Linked DNA regions of Homo sapiens: region 2 is linked to region 1. Evidence: promoter capture Hi-C in 16 types of primary human blood cells and fetal thymus (Javierre and others, 2016). All regions are on one chromosome and are shown on one strand. Each heading gives the region's core, a stretch centred on a gene start or on the middle of the fragment in contact. The rest is flanking DNA. Distances are from core to core; before and after follow the strand shown.

Evidence for each region. Contacts are between HindIII fragments. The CHiCAGO score rates a contact against its expected background, and 5 or more counts as called.
Region 2: a fragment that was not itself captured here is called in contact with the fragment with the promoter of AVIL in region 1 in 1 of 17 cell types (M1 macrophages); the score reaches 6.4 in M1 macrophages.

What each region holds. Positions count from the first base shown.
Region 1 is chr12:57,816,456-57,821,560 of GRCh38, forward strand. AVIL (advillin) reads right to left here and starts at 2,279. Exons shown (of 20, transcript NM_006576.4): 1 at 2,174-2,279. It overlaps CTDSP2 (CTD small phosphatase 2), which reads right to left. Exons shown (of 8, transcript NM_005730.4): 8 at 3,472-5,105. The HindIII fragment of the contact is 1,940 bases long and covers 462-2,401 here.
Region 2 is chr12:62,281,512-62,286,929 of GRCh38, forward strand. The region is part of intron 1 of USP15 (ubiquitin specific peptidase 15); the gene reads left to right. Among named protein-coding and RNA genes, the nearest start is that of USP15, 24 kb to the left of the region's middle. The HindIII fragment of the contact is 451 bases long and covers 3,109-3,559 here.

The DNA.
Region 1 (5,105 bases), core at 1,029-3,528:
TACAAGATCACACTCTAGAATGAAATCCTTATCTGATCCCCAAACCTGTGCTTCTAGCCACTTTGATGTACTACAACCCTTCCTAAACCAATCTAAGTTCAGTGGCATTTGGAAAGAAAAGCTAGTCAGAAAAAATATTTCCAAACTCAGTTGCCTTCTCTCACTCTCATTCCAATTCTTCCCAAGTTCCCTGCTTGCAAGGCCTTCTCCACAGTCAACTTTGACCTTCTCTTTGGCTTTTGTCCTTTTTTTTTTTTTTTTTTTTTTTTTAGAGTAAACTATTCTTAAACTCAAACAACCCTTCCTTCTTTTGTCACTACTATATTCCCTGTGCTTTCCAGATGCAAGGAAAGTAAAATGGCAGGGCTGGGCCTGGGACAAAGGGTTCTGGGTGCTAGCAGGGTGTGGCCTGGTCTGGCCTGCGGACAGATGGCTTCCTTTTTCCCTCCCACACAGACCCAAGCTTCTGTGTGGAAGCGTGAACCTCAGACACTTAGACGTCTCCAGTTCCTTCAGGATTGAGCAAGTCAGGGTGGGGAGAGGGGGGAAGTGGTAAAGATCTAAGTCTGTGTAGGTCGTGTACCATCTGTATTCAAGGAGCATCTTGGGTAATTAAGCACCTACCCATGTCCAAGGCCACGTAGAGGCTTTATAGAATTAAAATACCTGCTCTCAAGGAGCTTGAAATCTGATAACATGCATAATTAATGTAAAGCTAGATTAATTTCTCCCAAGAGGCAAAGGAAAAAGGATGGGGTTGATGGATTTATGTAAGATTTAAAAATTCACCCAGAAAGGACTGTATGCATTTTTGCTGTTTGGGGACATACTGTTTGTTAAGAGGAACATGTCTGACCATTGTTTTCTTGAACCTTGATGGACAAAGCCAAGTTTGGAGAGCATGCGCCATCTAGTATGGACTTTGGCAAAAAACCATAAAGCTCAAAGCAGACTCGCTTTGTCTACTGCTGTAGCAGGACTAAAGCAAGGCAATGGTGCGGAGCAGCCAGTGTTTGAGAATTTAATTTGATAACTTGTGCTGCCCCACCCTGTGCTGCTCAGAATTGCCAGGAAATATGGTGTTTGGGTTTTCTTCAGACCCTACGTAGCAGTCATTAAAGGCAAAAGCCATGAGCCAACTAGGGGAAGGGGACAAGGGCCACTGAATTCATTCCTTGGAGACAGAGAACTGTCACCCTGGTAAAAGCCAAACCAGCCGGCAGCAATTAGGACTGTGAGCCTCAGAGGCTGAAACCTGTCCCGTTTCCCAGCAGGAATTTAGGAATCAAGGAGCTCCCTGGGCCAGGCACCCCGAATGCGAGAGGATAAGCTCCAGGAAGGGACTTCCTGTCACACTGGAACACACAGAAAACACAGTTCTGACATCAAATCTCCCAAAGCTGGGTCTCTCCTTCTCCCTAAATCCTAATTCAGTATCCTTTGAGAGGACTGCAGAAACCCCTTGGGTGTGGGGCACAGTTTTGAAATGTCAGGTTAAAAGCCAGTGGCCTGTAATTCTCAGAGATGCCCTTTTGGACGGACCCTGAGCAGAGGAAGCTGTTTTTTGTTGTTGTTGTTTTTGAGACAGGGTCTTGCTCTGTCACCCAGGCTGGAGTGCAGTGGTACAATCACGGCTCACTGCAACCGCCACCTCCTGGGCTCAAGTGATCCTTCTGCCTCAGCCTCCTGAGAAGCTGAGACCACAGGTGTGCACCACCATGCTTGGCTTTTTTTTTTTTTTTTTTTTTTTTTTTTTTTGTAGAGACAGGGTCTCACTATGTTGCCCAGGATGGTCACAAGTTACAAACTCCTGGGCTCAAACAATCCTCATGCCCTGGCTTCCCAAAGTGTTGGGATTACAGGTGTAAGCCACCTCTCTGGGCCAGGAAGCTGGTTTTAACTCCTCCTGCCTTGCTCCATACCATCTTTCTCTAGGGATAGGTGAAAGGGGTCTGTCTTTCCCAGCTTTTGAAAATGTGCCCTATATGTTCAGCTGCCTCTAAGGGGTTCTTCTGAACAAGAAGTTTGCAAAACTGGCCAGCCAGACTCCTGGTTCATTTTAAAAGCCTCATCTCAGAAGACAAAGCCAAGGGACTCTCAAGCTCCTCTTCCTTTCATTTCTTCCTCATTCAGGAGGATTAACTGGCATGCCCCCGTAAATCAGAGACCTTACCTTGCCTTCTCGCTCACCAGCCTTCCCAGTTTCCCGGCGCGTAAGCAGCAGCAGTATTGAAGAACCACTCCAAAGCAGGAGGCTCCAGGTCCTGCTGCCTTAGCTTAGTAATGGCCGCAGAGATACTGGGTTATATTTGCTTGTGTTTGCATCTTAACCGCATTTTCCTAGTCCTGGCCAATCAGAGCCAACCTAGCACTGAGCTTGGCTTATTCAAACCAGAGGGAAAGCTTTATCTGTGCCTATTCAAAACAGCAAAACAGAAGAGCAGACTTTTAAAGGCTTCTTTGAACTCCAGCTCCACGCCCTGATCTAATTGATTTTTTAAAAAGTGCACACAGCCCATCAATAATGCAGGAAAGAGGTTGGAAGGATATGAAATTTGCCATATTGTAGATATGGATGCATTATGGTGATGACAGGAGGAAGAGGCTGGAGCTGCCCCATGAGTGCCTGTGATGTCTAGGTTGGCAAGAGCCTCCCTAAGAAGCTTCTGGCATTTCTCAAAGGGAGGGGAAGTCTGGGAGAGGAGCCAGAATTTTATTAGGCCACAGTTTTGCTCGTTGGGGTCTCTACTAGTCATACAGTAAACCAATCAATATTTGAGTGCCTGCTGTTTGCCAGGAACCATGCTGGGCTCTCAGCTTCAGGGTTTCCAGTTTGGAAGAATCAGTGAGGGGCAGAGAAGAATCAAGACTCCATTCCCAGGGCTGGGTGTGGTGGTGGCTCACGCCTGTAATCCCAGCACTTTGGGAGGCTGAGGTGGGTGGATCACAATGTGAGGAGTTTGAAAACAGCCTGGCCAAGATGGTGAAACCCCATCTCTACTAAAAATACAAAAATGAGCCGGGCGTGCTGGCAGGCGCCTGTAATCCCAGCTACTCAGGAGACTGAGGCAGGAGAATCGCTTGAACCTGGGAGGTGGAGGTTGCAGTGAGCTGAGATCATGCCACTGCCTCTAGCCTGGGCAACAGAGCAAGACTCCATTTCAAAAAAAAAAAAAAAAATAATAATCCATTCCCTTAGGGCTTCTGGTTCATGCCCAGAAGTCAATAGGACATCAAGCATATACACGTGCTAAGCACCTGACTGCAATGGGGTTGATCACAGCAGAACTTGTGTAACCTTGAGCGGAAGCCCTGTGTGGCATCTGCAGCTGGCCTCCCGGTGGGTGCAACACCCCACTCAGCCCGGGGGTGCAGCTGCTTCATGATGGAAGGGGTTGCGAGAAGAAAGGCGGTGCTTGCCATGGGCCCAGTGAACACTTAAGGGCCAATGAAGGTTGGTGGCAGCTCACATTCCTGGAAAGGTTTTTTAAACCCACTTTTATTAATTAATTGTAAGTAATACAAATATTCCAAAAATATAAACAGACACTTAATGGCGTCCTGCATTTCAAGTTTTTGAATACAACAAATTTATCAAACCATGAATCTGTAAGCAAGGTAGTCAGAATCCCATAGCCCAGTCACAGTGGGAAGCAGATCCCCTACCCTCCAAATGGCATCTTGAAGGGGGAAAGCGGCACGAAATGGAACATGATAAGCAAAAAAGCTCACGAGGCCCAAAGAGGAGGGTCCGCTCCATGGGCAGGCCCTACAACGTTAAAAGAATGGGGCAGCTGGCCCGACCTCTGGCCTCCTCTTCCCTGGCTGAATGTAAATATTTACCAGCATTTAGAAAAAAGGAGAAAAAAGACAGAACTAAACCCGTTTAGGAAAAAGGGACCGAGGGACAGCAGTGGTTAAGTAATCCACTGAGGACCTGAAGGGGAAAATGGACTTACCTTTCTCATATACTTGGCCTGGCTAGGACACTGGGTGCCAGACAGCCTTCTGAGGGGATTTTCTTTCTAAATGAGGCCTCAGGAACAGGTAGGGGCAGCAGAATAGAATAGCATCCATTTCCCAGAGAAAGACTGCCTTTACATTTCCCATGCTTTTAGCACAAAGCAGCGTCTGGGCCACTGTTACCAGAGGTGAGTTTATACATTTACAAAATGCTTAAAATCTTTGGGAAGCAAGAGGAAGCTAAACAGAAGGTCCCATGTTAACTGAAGGCAAATTCACTCAACCTCTCTAGTAAGGGACCCATGGGCCTACAGAGTGTTCCCTCTACAATGTGCAGAGTGGAAACCCTTACCTGACCCTTTTCCAAACTGGTCCTGTGTCCAAAGCTCCCCCTATGAGAGGGACACGAACATCAGGCTTTTGATTTAGAAGCCCAATCAGAGAGACACACTGTGTCCCTGAAGAGGCACCTTAAAAGAACTGAACCTGGCAGGTAGGCAGATTCCTGGCATGGCTTGAATTGGTGCTGACCAGGCATGGTGGCCTATTGCCTCCCAAAGACCAGTCTCAAGTGGGAGGGGCTGATGGTGGGAAGCCCTAGAAGAGAGTCTGGGATGAAGCGGCCTCCTCCCTGTCTTGCCCTCCAAAATTGAGTCTGGCCTGATTCCTTTGAGGAGCAAATTTTACAATCATCCCTCACCCTAACACACGGTGAAACTGGAAACCCGACAGCAAATAATGACTAGGCTGGCTCTGGTCCACAAGAACAGACCCTGGCTAGGTTTGGCCGAGTAGCTTCTCTGGGGCAAGTGGGAATGGCATTGTTGGGGGGGAGTTGCAGGTGGGCAGGCAGGGTTCTGATGGGAGTGAGGCCTAAAAAGCAGGGGCTTCATGCAGATGCAGCAGGGACACTCCCACCAAGCCATCCTGGGCTTTGGTCATGGGTCCCACGCCAAGCACTTGGACAAGTCTGTTAGGAAAGGGGGTGGCACATGCTCTTCCGCCATCTGGAAAAACATGGAGATCCAAGGGAGGGCGGAAAGGGTCCTTGCAACTCAGTCAGCTTAGAGCCTCTTATTGCTTATTTAGTCAGAAAAGCCTGGCTGGGCCTAGACGGCAAAAGATTTGGCCAAGGGCTAACC
Region 2 (5,418 bases), core at 2,084-4,583, 4.5 Mb after region 1:
TATTTTTAGTGGAGACGGGGTTTCAACATGTGGGCCAGGCTGGTCTTGAACTCCTGGCCTCAAGTGATCCAGCCATCTTGGCCTCCCACAGTGCTGGGATTACAGGCGTGAGCCACAGCACCTGGCCAGATTCTCCTATTTTTCTACTTTCCTGATGTTTCATTACCATAAAATTGTGTAGATAGCCCTAAGAGAAATATGGTGCCCTTTTTCAATTGAAGATAGTATTGAAAGCAATTAAATATCATCAAATGGGAAAGTCTCCTATCATAATAGTATCATTGTACAGAAAGAAGTCACTACAAGATCTAGGAAAGATAGTTGATACAGAAATATATGACAATAGACAGTTGACATAGAAATGTATGACATTATAGAAGGTTTACCAAGTATATACTTTTAGTACCGCAGTCCCTTTTTATCTGCAGAGTATAAGTTCCAAGACCCTCAGTGGATGCCTGAACCTGCAAATAGTAGCAAACCTTATATACACTGCTTTTTCCTATGCTTACATATAATAAAGTTTAATTTATAGGCCAGGCACACTGGCTCATGTCTGTAATCCCAGCACTTTCGGAGGCCAAAGTGGGAGGGCACCTTGAGCCCAGGAGCTTGAAACCATCCTGGGCAACGTAGTGATATCTCATCTCTACAAAAAATAAACAAAATTAGCTGAGTTTGTGGCACATGCCTGTAGTCCCAGCTACTCAGGAGACTGAGGTGGGAAGATCACTTGAGCCAGGGAGGTTGAGACTACAGTGAGCTGTGATCATGCCCCACTGCACTCCAGCCTGGGTGACAGAGCAAGACCCTGTCTCCAAAAAAAAATAAATAAATAAGTTTAACTTATAAATTAGCCACAGGAAGATTAACAGCAACAATTAATAATAAAATAGGACAGTTATGACAATATTCTGTAAAAGTTATGTGGATGTGGTTTCTCAAAATACCTTACTGTACTGTACTTACCCTTTTTGTAATAGTGTGAGATGATAAAATGCATAGGTGATGAGATGACATGAGGTAAATGACATAGGCATTGTGATGTAAATGGAAGATTTCAGAAATAATTTATAGGTTTTAAATTACATGTGTGCTGCATAGCATGATGAAATACTGTGCCATTCCACCCAAACTGCCTTCAAGCCCTCTTGGTTATCAGGTTGACTGTTGCAGTATCACAATCCTTATGTTCAAGTATCCCTTATTTTATTTAATAATGACCCAAAATGCAAGAGTAGTGAGAGTACCACAGTTGACAGTTAACCCGCAGAAAGTGAAACTGCAGATAAAAGGAGGCTACTGTATAACTGTAAAGGATTTATTAAGTACTTTGGGAGATAAAACTCTATATCTTAAAAATGTCTAAGTAACTATAAATAGAATTTCTATACTTTTCCACAAATTGTTTTTAATGTGTTTTATAAATGATATTTGTAACTGTAGTATTAATGTTATCTCAAGTCCATATTCTATTTTTAATGGATATGGCATTAGCTTTTTAAGAAAACTAACGGGAAATTTTGCATTTCCATTTTAAAGGGAAAAATCAGTAACTAAGAAAAATTAACTGAAGATCAGAGTCTACCCTCCCAAATGATACTATACTCCCCAGTAGTTTTTCATACAAGTAAATCATTAAGGGGCAGATAACCCGTTACAAACTACTTTTGTAGATAGTAGAAGAGTAAAAGCTATTCCAGGTTTGTTCAGAAGAGTACAGGAGAAAAAGCTTGGCAAGTGCAGAAAATTTTCATCACCTTTAACACTTAGTCATGATAGTCTAAACAAATGTTGAATAGAAAGGAACTTCTCTAAGTTCATAAGCAGTATTTATCAAAAACCTACAGCAAGCTAATAAGCAGCATTTATCAAAAATCTACCTAGTGGTGAAACTTTAAATGTTGTCATAAAAAAAAAGACAAAAATGTTTGCTGTCTCTTCACCTATATTTTAGGAGCCCTAGCCAAGAAAAATAGGCAATAGACAAGAACAATAGGAATACAATTAGAAAGGAATGATTAAACACATTATTTGCAGCAACAGTATGAGTTTTTACATAGAAAAATCTAAGGGAACCTACAACCAGGTAAAACTACTAAGAGTTCAGGATGCTGGTGGATATCAGATTAATCACTTAAAAAAATTAGGCTGAGCACAGTGGTTCATGCTTGTTATCCTAGCACTTTGAGAGGCCGAGGCAGGCGGATCACTTGAGGCCAGGAGTTTGAGACCAGCCTGGCTAAGATGGCAAAACCCGGTCTTTACTAAAAATAGAAAAATTAGCTGGGCATGGTGGCACAAGCCATAATCCCAGCTACTCTGGAGGCTGAGGCACGAGAATTGCTTGAACCTGGGAAGTGGAGGTTGCAGTAAGCCAAGATCGTGCCACCACACTCCAGCCTGGGCAGCAGAGCGAGACCCTATCTCCAAAAAACAAACAACAAATATTATTTCTATGCATCAACTACAAGCAGTTATAGAATTTAATTAATTGGGGAAAAAATGTAAAATTCACATAGAAAAACTGAGGTTTCTAGGAACGAATTTAGCAAAACATGATTTTTATTGGAAAAACATATAAAATTTATTGAAAGACATTAACCTGAATAATGGAGAGATACGCCGTGGCTGTGGATAAGAAGACTCACTTTGGTAAAGATGGCAGTGTCCCTCAACTTTGTAAGTGTAATGTACTTCCAATCAAAATCTTATTAGACTTTTTTGTGGAACTTTGCGAAGAAAGCAAGTCGAATGTCTGAGTATAAGTAAAGTCATTGCTAGTCTAGTCAATATTTATTTTAGAAAATAGGATTTTCTTAAGACTTAGTCCCTCAATTCTTTTCTCACAAATCTTAAATTCCACAATGTGTGGGGGCTTTCAATTGCATAATCTTGACAGTGAGTTCAGAATACTGGTACATAGATAATTCTGCATATCCACTTTTAGGGAGTTAAACTCATGAATATTCTTTAAGAAATCTGAGGTTTTGTTAGGTTAGTGCCTTTGCTTTAGCTATTTTCGGACGTAACTGTGGGTTTTTGTTCTTATAGTGCTATATATGGTAAGCATAGAAAAGAAACACTAGAATGGATAATCTTCTAAAAAGCTTTGTTACCTGTAGTATTACACACATGAGCTTTAAATCTCTCATTAACCTTTATCTTTACCTTTGATTCTGCTTGTGATTGAACCTGGTTAAATGTGGGAGAAATGTTTCTAGAAAAATTTAAAATCATTGTGAACCAATGACAAAGCAGTATTTTATAGCAGGCATACTGTAGTCAGAATAAATTTTTACAATGTTTTAGGTTTTTTTTTAATGCTTTCTATCCTAGTGAACTCTTGTTTTACTTTTTCTGTCATTGGTCATCTGATGAGAAGCTAGTTTCTAGGCAGCTGAAAATAAGATGGATATAGTTTCAGTAATGTTTACAGTGTTAGCTGTATCACACTTTTGAAATCATTCAAAAACCAATCCTGCTTGCCCCATATTTTACTACTATAGGAGGAACAGTCAGAGATAGTATTGTTGTTATTAACTTCTGTTGGTAAAGAAGCTTAATTAAGGTTTTAAGAGTTGATTATACTTTCTATTAATATTTTTATAGATTTAGGGACTACAAATGCAGTTTTGTTACATGGATGAACTGCATAATGGTGAAGTAAGGGCTTCTAATGTAGCCATCAGCTGAATAGTGTATATTGTACTCATTTAATAATTTATCATCCCTCTCCTGCCTCCCACCCTTCTGAGTCTCCAATGTCTGTTATTCACGCTCTATGTGTATACATGATTTAGCTCCCACTTATAAGTGATAACATGCAGTATTTGATTTTGTATTTCTGAATTATTTCCCCTAAGATAATGGCCTCCAGTTCCATCCATGTTGCTGCAAAAAACATGGCTTCCTTCTTTTTTATGGCTAAGTAGTATTCCATGGTGTTTGTGTCTTTGTGTTTGTGTATGTGTGTGTGTACATGAGTGTGCCACATTGTCTTTATCCAGTCATCCATTTATGGACACTTAAAGTGTTTCCTAAGATAATGGCCTCCACTTCCATCCATGGTGCTGCAAAAAACATGGTTTTATTCTTTTTTATGGCTGAGTAGTATTCCATGGTGTGTGTGTGTGTATCCATATATGCTACATTGCCTTTATCCAATCATCCACTGATGGACACTTAGGTTGTTTCCATATCTTCACTATTGTGAATAGTGCTGTGATAAACATACAAGTGCAGGTGTCTTTTTGATAGAATGATTTCATTTCCTTTGGGTATATACCTAGTAGTGGAATTACTAGATCCAGTGATAGTTCTATTTTTAGTTTTTTGAGAAATCTCCATACTGTTTTCCATAAAGGTTGTACTAATTTCCATTCCCTCCATTCCCACCATTCCTTTTCTTCTGCATCCTTGCCAACATCTGTTATCTTTTGAGCTTCTAATAATAGCCATTCTGACTGGTATGGATGCTTTTTCACTGTGGTTTTACTTGTATTTATCTGATAATTAGTGATGTGGAATTTTTTTTCATATGTTGACCATTCATATGTGTTAGTTTGAAATTTTTCTGTTTAGAGTAAACAGACAATCTACAAAATGGGAGAAAATATTTTCAAACTATGCATACAACAAAAGACTAATATCTGGACTCTATAAGGAACTTAATAAGAAAAAAAACGCCCATTAAAAAGTGGACAAAGAACATGAAGAGAATTCTCCAAAGAACACATACAGACAGCCAGCAAATGTATGAAAAAATGCACAAAATCACTAATAATCAGAGAAATACAAATCAAAACCACAGTAAGATACCATCTCACACCAGTTGAAATGGCTATTATTAAAAAGTTAACAGATTTTAGCAAGATTGCAGAGAAAAGGGAATGTTTAATATGTTATTGGTGAGAATGCAAATTAGTTCAGCCCCTGTGGAAAGAAAGCAGTTTGGAGATTTCTCAAAGAACTAAAAATAGAAATACCATTCGCTCAGCAGTCCCATTACTAGAAAATAAATCATTCTACCAAAAAGACACTTACACTCATATGTTTATCACAGTACTGTTCACAATAGTAAAGACATGGAATCAACCCAGGTGCCCATCATTGATGGATTGGATAAAGAAAATGTGATACATGGCCGGGCGTGGTGGCTCATGCCTGTAATCCCAGCACTTTGGGAGGCTGAGGTGGGCGGGTCACCTGAGGTCAGGAGTTCGAGACCAGCCTGACCAACATGGTAAAACCCCGTCTCTATTAAAAATACAAAATTAGCCAGGCGAGGTGGCGCATGCCTGTAATCCCGGCTACTCGGAAGGCTGAGGCAGGGGAATCGCTTGAACCCGGGAGGTGGAAGTTGCGGTGAGCTGAGATCGCACCATTGCACTCCAGCCTGGGCAACAAGAGCGAAAC